Linked DNA regions of Homo sapiens: all the other regions are linked to region 3. The links are contacts of gene promoters, found by promoter capture Hi-C in human tissues and cell types (Jung and others, 2019). All regions are on one chromosome and are shown on one strand. Each heading gives the region's core, a stretch centred on a gene start or on the middle of the fragment in contact. The rest is flanking DNA. Distances are from core to core; before and after follow the strand shown.

Region 1 (2,700 bases), core at 29-2,528, 430 kb after region 3:
AATGCTGCAGGTGTGGCCCGAGCACCTCTTTGAAGTACTGCTTAATCGTCCCCCTTCCAAATCCTCATAATCCAACCCTCATGAAAAACCCTGGGGATTATTGATTGAGGGGGCCTTGGGGATCCCTAAAGGCACTGCAGCTCAGACACCAGCCTGTCCTGGAGGTGCGGCTGCAGGCTGCACCCGGAATGCATGCCAGGTGTGGCTGGGCTTGCTGCACCAACCTGGAGGGCCAGGCCAGCTCCTCCCAGGCAGGGACAGGGTGGAGCCCAGGGAGAAGGCACCAAGGTGAGCCATGCCCACTTTAAAGGTAGGGATTTCTATGCATGTAACAAAATATCACATGTACCCTGTAAATACGTACACGTATTTTTTATCAGTAAAAAAAGAGTGGAGGATTTTCCTCTTAATAACTGTCTTGCTTAAAACAACATTCTTTGGAGCTTATAGTTTGAGATAGGACCTCTTATTTAAATAATTAATTAATCAATTGTAATTAATTTAAATGAAAATAATTCAAACAGTTTATTTTCGGTAATTTAAGTACTTTAATTAAATTTAATTCATTTAATTGATTTCATTTACTGTCATAATCTGTGCCTCCTCTTTAAGCCCAGATCCTTTAGCTGCCCTGTGCTACTTTTCAGTCAGGCCGTGCAGCGCCTTATTTAACAAGATTTTGATATATCCATACAGTCCCCACCTGGAATGTCTTTCCTTCTCCTCTCTACTTTATGAAATCCTTCTAATTGGTCAAGGTCTGGCTCAAATGTCACCTTTCTTATGAAGCCTTCCCAAGTTCCTGGGATGACTTAGTCACTTCCCCCTTTCTGTTGCCATTATACTTTGTTCATGCCACTATTTTAGCACTGTTAATGCTTGTATCTGTTACATTAGTATAGTTGTTTATTTGTTCAACTCATCCCTTATCTCCTGGGTTCCAGGCACTGGGCTGGGTGCTGCAGATACAAAGTTGAACAAGATACAGTGCTTGATTTTGAGGAAATCACAGAGATGTGAGGATCCCAAGGTCATGGGGAAAAGATGAAAATTACCAGGTGAGAGGAATATACTAGTTGTTATACTAAAACGTTCTCTGAGGTCTTAGGTAGAGAGCCACTGGGTTGTAAAAACTTGAGAGCTGTCTTACTGGGGACACCCAGTAGGGTGCTCGCACTCCCCAGTGCTCACTAAATCTCAATGGAATAATTGGTGCAGTTGAAAGATGCCTGATTAGACTTGAATTTCCAGGTTGGAGTTCCAAGTTGTGCCTCTTAGAAGATGCGTAATGTAATCAGATCATGCAAACACTCTGTCTTCCTTTCTCATAAATGAAATGGATATAGTAAGAATAATCTTCTTCTAGCACTGTTAGGAGAAGCAAATGAAGAAATGTAAGTAAAGGCAATTTGAACCCTCTGGAGGTAAATAAAGGTAATGCCCCCTTGTAAATACTGTTACCTTCGTGACTTAGAGCAATTCTTTCTACTGACAAGGACTCTATACATGAAACCCTATGGGATTAACTATATGATCTGGAAAGCTAAAACTATGGCTGGAGCTAGGAGAGTCAACAAGGGACAGGAAGGTCCTGTTTGTTTTCACTCCTCCTGGGCATTGGTCCATATGTTTGCTTGGAGACCATAGGGTTTAGAGATTTGAGATAACTACAAAATCTCTTTAAAGTGCAATTGTTCAGTTCTATTTTATGTATAACAGAATCAGTGCACAAAAATATCCACATGTCCTAAGAAGGACTATCCAAATAGCTTTTTTATGGTCTGATGGAAATAACTCCTGTCAGACTCAGAAACAGGCAGATGTCTGTAGCTGTTATAGGTGGGCCTTGAAACTTGCTGTCATGTTCAGATTTCTTCTCATTGTCTTTATAACTGTGGTCAGGAATGAACAATAGCCTGTTAGCATGAGTCTGAGGGTAGATAAATCCATCATTGGTTTAGGCAGCTTTGCATTGCACCATAGTGCTAAAAAACACTAAATTAATCAGCTGGTAGAAAGACACCCTTGGAGGTGAATGGATGGAAGAAGATGTGAATAGAAAGGAACGCATTTGGACAGGGATCTATTTATCACTTCACCTTAAGTGCTTTGTGGGCCTATAAAAATATGGAAATGTGTGACAGAGTAGAATAAGCAAGGAAGGGTGGCAAAAGCTTCCAAGGGAAGGAATGATGCTTTTCTTCTCACAGTAAAGTCCAGTTACATGAAAATGGTTTTGGAAAAATTTTTGACTATCCTTGCCACATGAAATGGCATTTGTTGGATGAGATCATATGCAATGAGAAATAAAACCCCATTTAGCTTGCAAAAATTAAAACAAAGGCTTTTCAATGAGTTCAGGTGATCCTTGATGTACAATTCTGTCAGAAGCTGAGTTTAGCCTGCATAGTTCACTAGCCCCTAAACATCCTTGCCACATGGAGGTGAAGCCAAGAGTCCAGGCAGCCACAGTGAGCTAGCTATGAGGTGCACTGTGGAGTGGAGCAGCACCACTCAGCACATATCTGGGAAACCACTCCTGTTCCCTACCCATCACTCTGCCTAGCAGGCTGGTACACTTCTCTCTATGACAATATGTCTTCTGGCTTTTGTTAAGCTGCTCCTTTACCATAAAACAAGAAAGAAGATAAAATACACAAATTCCCTTTGGTTCTGAATCTGAAGAGTGAACTGCCCCAT
Region 2 (2,700 bases), core at 174-2,673, 460 kb after region 3:
AAGACATAGGGAGAAAAGGTTTTTGTTGTGGTTTGTTTTTTTTACTGCGACCTGAAATCCGCCTTACCAAAACCCATTCCAGAGAACTTTAGCCTTGGCTTCAGCCAAACAGGCAATGAAGTGTAACTTTTCAGTGACTATTTCGGTTCCAAAACCCTTGTATATATGGATTTATTTGGAAAAATAAAGCCTTAAAATAGAAGTCCAAGCTTATCATGTGCAGGCCTTTTCCTGCCAACTTATAAGCAACAAACTGGTGTATTTCTTCTTCCTCTTTGAGATAGAGTACATTCCAAGAGGAAGTCGATGTCAAGTATTTGGATAAACAGCTAAGATTTGAGAACCAGCTCTCCAGCAATGGGGGAGGTTTTCTCTAATATGTCCTAAGGCTGGTGTGCTACAGGTTTGTAGCAATTATTTCTTTTTTTAAAAAGCATTTTCTTCTCATTAGGGAAAAGACTTCTTGAATGAACTAAAGGGGACAGATGGAGACTTGGAACATTGTCATCACCCTTGAGCCTCTGTAACTATGATTTCTAGGGCACTCAGGTAGTTTATTGGGCAGTCATCCGAGGGGAAACTAAACACATGTTAACATGGACTGGCAGCCCCTAGTCTAAATTCTTTCAGCCAGTGGTCCCCAACCTTTTTGGTACCAGGGATCGATTTTATTGAAGACAATTTTTTCCATGGATGAGGTTGGGTGGGGGATGGTTTCGGGATGAAACTGTTCCACCTCAGGTCCTCAGGCATTAGAGTCTCGTAAGAAGCACGTGACCTAGATCCCTGGCATGCGCAGTTCACAATAGGGTTCGCGTTCTTACGAAAATCTAATGCCGTGGCTGATCTGACAGGAGGCGAACCTCAGGCGGTAATGTTTCCTCGCCTTCCACTCACCTCCTCTGTATGGCCCGATTCCTAACAGGCTACTGACTGGTACAGGTCTGTGGCATTTGGGGACGGGGACTCCTGCTTTAAGCCATAGGGTAGCAATGCTTCATTTCCATCCAGAAAAGAGGAGAAAGCGCAAGGGATGGTTGTTGCAAAATCATGTTCCCCATCAAGGGAGTCTCTTGGAGACAGTGGAGTCACATAACCAGCATGGTGACAGCAGGAATCAAGCCAGCTCCTGAACCCAAGTAGGAAAGCAGGTGACTGAATGGCAAAAACTGCCAGATACAAATATTTTCTTTTGTGCTTCTCTGTTTTTGAAGCAGCTCATGCCCTGGGAAGATGAGGATGTCTTACAATTGTTTCCATTTAGTGATGCAGAAACTGTCACAACAATGAGTCACTGTTCTGTACAAAAGAGACCTTTGGTGGTGGAAAACTGGTGTGTGTGTGTGTGTGTGTCTGTGTGTGTGTGTGTGAGAGAGAGAGAGAGAGATTGCTCAAATTGCCATTGCCTAATCAGCCAGTAGTGATTGAATGGAGAAAGCCTTTGAACCAGATCTCAGATTCAGGGTGCTTTCATGGAGCAAAGAGAAAAAGACTGAGAAATTCACTATGGTGAGTATTGAGGTTGTACTGCAGCTCAGTCTGGAGAATTGAAGGCTCCTTCCTGAAAGGGTATGGGGACATAGAGAAAGATAGCATCAGTGGATCAAAGCTACCACATTTTTGCGGTTAGATGGAGATTACAGTAGGGAGTGACAGAGATAAAATGTTAAAAACCTCCAACATTCCAGTTTAGACACAGCCCCTCCCCTTTCTGGCCATAGTGACCGCTCTCTGGCAAGCACTGCCCAGGGAAGATAAATCAGTTAGCCAGTGGCCTAAGGGTTAGGACTTTAAAAAACAACAACAATAAAAAAACCAAGAAGTTATAAACCGTGAGTCCACAAGTGGCCCCAGGAGACTTGCCTTCTGCATTCTCTCTGTCTGCGCAGGACTGTGAGGCATCTCTGGGAAGCCATCAGCTCTCAGGGGCAGGCACAGGAAACAGCTCTTCTTGTTGGCAAAATCCAGTTCGGTGGTTTGGAACAGGGTAGACAGAGAAACAAACAAGTGTTTGTTCATAGGCTGAGACCTAGGGGGTGTATAAGGAGTAATGATCCTATCACCTAAGGAGGATGAATTCTGGGTCATTTTATGAACTGTCTTCCTTAGAAAAGCCTCCGAAGCAACTGGCAGATGAAAACTGGAAACTATTTTGAGCTGGGATCAGGGAGTCCAGGGAGCTCAGCAGACCAGGTTACTGCCACTGCCACTCACTAATTAAGCACATGGACAAATTGCTGCCTTTTCTTGGCCTCTTTTCCTCCTCATAAACAGATGAATCCAAAACTTTTCTAAATCCAAAACTCACCAGTTACTTTTCCTCTTGTCTGCTGATCTTTACTTTTTTTTTTTTTCTATGACACTGCATTTTTCCCCCCTGATGTCAGGATCCAAGAGAAAGTGAAAACCTTTCTCCTGATACGGTCAATACTGGAGAACTGGGAACAATGTCAGAATGACCGGCCACCCTGAGCCAGCCCCTTCAATGGCACTGCCCCTGGGGGCTGTTCAACATATAAACTGGGGCCATTTAACATATAAACTGAATTCAAAAGTTACTTCATGTTCTACAAAAAGAATATGTTTTATTTTTAATTTACCTTCATTTTCAAAAAAATCAAGATTCTCTCTTTAAGGTGCCCCGGGCCCTATGTGTCATGCAGTACCCATTTGCAGAAACATCTTCTGTCACCAAGAGTT
Region 3 (2,700 bases), core at 94-2,593:
ACTTGCTTTTCTGGGTTTATTTGGTGAGGAGCCTTCGTGCTGAAGGGAAATAAAAATGTCACAGAATCCCTGTTAGGAGATGCTTATTAGGGCAATCGAAAACAAAAGTTTTCGTGGTTTCATTATTCGTATTATTTTATTTTCTTCCTGAAAATGTGCAAGAACAGCTCATCTGGGTGGCCTGTGGTTTGTTTGGGAGAGGGGTGGGGAAATTCATTCTGACTATAATTTAAAGAGAAGAAATTCTTAAAATAGATATGTCGATGTTGCACAAAACCTCCACCACCACTACCCTGCGTTCTAAAGACCCAAGGCACGAATGGAAGACGTTGACCACCACGCAGCTCCTCCTGCAACCAGGCCCAAGGGGTTCCTGGGGAAGCTGTCACAGAATTGAAAGCAGTATTGAACCCCACGGAAATCTGCTCTTGTGGGCACTTGCAAAACAACGAACCCCACGTGATCCGGAGATGTGGTGGAGGGGTGAGGCTAACATTTCCTACAACCTCCTGCAAAGGATGGAAGCGCGTGCCGCTCTCCCGGGTTTCGGGAGGCAGCCTGTTTTGTAGCCTCTGAGGCTCCGGGGAAAGGTTTGGCTGCGTCTAAGAGAGACGTTTGGAGCCATCCGTCTTATTTTGTTTGAAAAGTCACTCGTTCAATTTGTCACTGTGTGACAGCTCAGAATAAAACCAATTTGCGGCCGCCCCTCCTCCTCGCTTCCCGGAGGATCTCCTGGGAGGCACGAGGCGGACGCGGTGCTGAGTTGGGCCGGGACTCAGGGCGGCAACATTTGGGCAAGGGCCCAGGAAAGATGAGGGGCTTTGCCGAGGACACGGACTCCTGGAATAAAAGCAGAATGAGGTCAAGAGAAGGGAAGCAAAGGGGCCAAAGCGCGCTCCGCTCTCCACCGGGAGGCGGGCTTTGCAGAGCCCTAAAGAGTGAGATTACCGTCCCTTCCCCACGCCCCCAACTCGCCCCGGGTGACAAGCGCTTCAGGAAAGCTCCTGTGATCAACCCTCCTTGCCCCGTGGCGGTTCGGAGCTGCAGAAGTTAGAAGAGAGTCAGAGCCCTCCGGAGCGGCTGCCTGGCCCCTACGCAGAGTAGCAAGAAGCACTGCGATGTGCGCTACTAAGCCCACGCGGCCGCAGCAAAAACTTTGGCGTGGCCGGGGCGTGGCTAGGGTCCGGCCAGGCCCCCTTGTTCCTAATTCCCCTCCACTCCCCGCTCCCATTGGTCACGAGGATGACCAATGAGCGCTCGGATCGAGGTCCTACCCCGGGCCTGACTCGAAAGCTCCTGCCAAAACTTTGGGAGTTTTTAGAGACGAGTTTTTTTTTTTTTCTATTACTTTTCCCCCCCCCTAACTAACGGACTATTATTGTTGTTGTTTTAAATTTAGCTCTTAGGGCTTAGCTATTTGGGTTTTCTTGCGGTGTCCGGCTCCCGTCTCCCTGGCTCCCCCGCCCGCCCTGCGGCCCCAGCGCCCCTCGCTCTCATCCAGCCCGCGAGGAGTGCGGGCGCCGCGCCGCCTTTAAAGCGAGGCCAGGGAGCGAGGCGGTGACCGGCCGAGATCCGGCCCTCGCCTCCTCCCTCGGTGGCGCTAGGGCTCCCGGCCTCTCTTCCTCAGTGCGGGCGGAGAAGCGAAAGCGGATCGTCCTCGGCTGCCGCCGCCTTCTCCGGGACTCGCGCGCCCCTCCCCGCGCGCCCACCCACCCAGTCCGGCTGGACTGCGGCAGCCGCGCGGCTCACCCCGGCAGGATGTTCGCAGCCGGGCTGGCTCCCTTCTACGCCTCCAACTTCAGCCTCTGGTCGGCCGCTTACTGCTCCTCGGCCGGCCCAGGCGGCTGCTCCTTCCCCTTGGACCCCGCCGCCGTCAAAAAGCCCTCCTTCTGCATCGCAGACATTCTGCACGCCGGCGTGGGGGATCTGGGGGCGGCCCCGGAGGGCCTGGCAGGGGCCTCGGCCGCCGCCCTCACCGCGCACTTGGGCTCGGTTCACCCGCACGCCTCTTTCCAAGCGGCGGCCAGATCCCCGCTTCGACCCACCCCAGTGGTGGCGCCCTCCGAAGTCCCGGCTGGCTTCCCGCAGCGGCTGTCTCCGCTCTCAGCCGCCTACCACCACCATCACCCGCAACAACAACAGCAGCAGCAACAGCCGCAGCAGCAACAGCCTCCGCCTCCGCCCCGGGCTGGCGCCCTGCAGCCCCCGGCCTCGGGGACGCGAGTGGTTCCGAACCCCCACCACAGTGGCTCTGCCCCGGCCCCCTCCAGCAAAGACCTCAAATTTGGAATTGACCGCATTTTATCTGCAGAATTTGACCCAAAAGTCAAAGAAGGCAACACGCTGAGAGGTAGGTCTTGGGCGGGAGGCTGCAGGCCTCTGACCACTGACCCACTCCCCGGACCCCGGGCTGGCTTGGGGTGCCTTTGAGTGTTTTTACAATTAAGGACAAATCGGTAAAACGGGAGAGAAGAAAACGAATTGTAAGAAAACTACAAAACATTAGGTCTAAAACTCACCTGTTCTATGTAAAACAAACAAAAAATGACTCCAGGGATTCTTTAAAAACACGTCTTAGAATCAATATTTATAAAAGTGGTTGGTGTAATTATCTGCTAACATGACTTTGATCTCTTTAATAATGTATCTAGAGACAGAATTATATTTTCTGACAGCTAAAGCATTTTTGGGAAACACTTT

Evidence for each region. Contacts are between HindIII fragments. The study calls those that stand out against the background at their distance.
Region 1: a fragment that was not itself captured here is called in contact with the fragment with the promoter of HLX in region 3 in 1 of the 25 tissues and cell types used here (IMR-90 fibroblasts).
Region 2: a contact is called between a fragment that was not itself captured here and the fragment with the promoter of HLX in region 3, in 1 of the 25 tissues and cell types used here (IMR-90 fibroblasts).

Annotation. Positions count from the first base shown.
Region 1 is chr1:221,305,919-221,308,618 of GRCh38, forward strand. LOC105372932 (a long non-coding RNA gene) reads left to right here. Exons shown (of 4, transcript XR_922621.2): 2 at 945-1,058. Among named protein-coding and RNA genes, the nearest start is that of LINC02817, 29 kb to the right of the region's middle. The HindIII fragment of the contact is 3,269 bases long and covers 1-2,700 here.
Region 2 is chr1:221,334,000-221,336,699 of GRCh38, forward strand. It overlaps LINC02817 (long intergenic non-protein coding RNA 2817), which reads right to left and starts at 2,297. Exons shown (of 2, transcript NR_024236.1): 1 at 1,864-2,297. The region is part of intron 2 of LOC105372932 (a long non-coding RNA gene); the gene reads left to right. RefSeq lists an enhancer at 1,427-2,626. The HindIII fragment of the contact is 3,465 bases long and covers 1-2,700 here.
Region 3 is chr1:220,878,100-220,880,799 of GRCh38, forward strand. It overlaps HLX (H2.0 like homeobox), which reads left to right and starts at 1,344. Exons shown (of 4, transcript NM_021958.4): 1 at 1,344-2,350. The coding sequence starts at 1,759. HLX-AS1 (HLX antisense RNA 1) reads right to left here and starts at 2,041. Exons shown (of 3, transcript NR_046901.1): 1 at 1,750-2,041. RefSeq lists a silencer at 901-950 and an enhancer at 2,069-2,677. The HindIII fragment of the contact is 15,886 bases long and covers 1-2,700 here.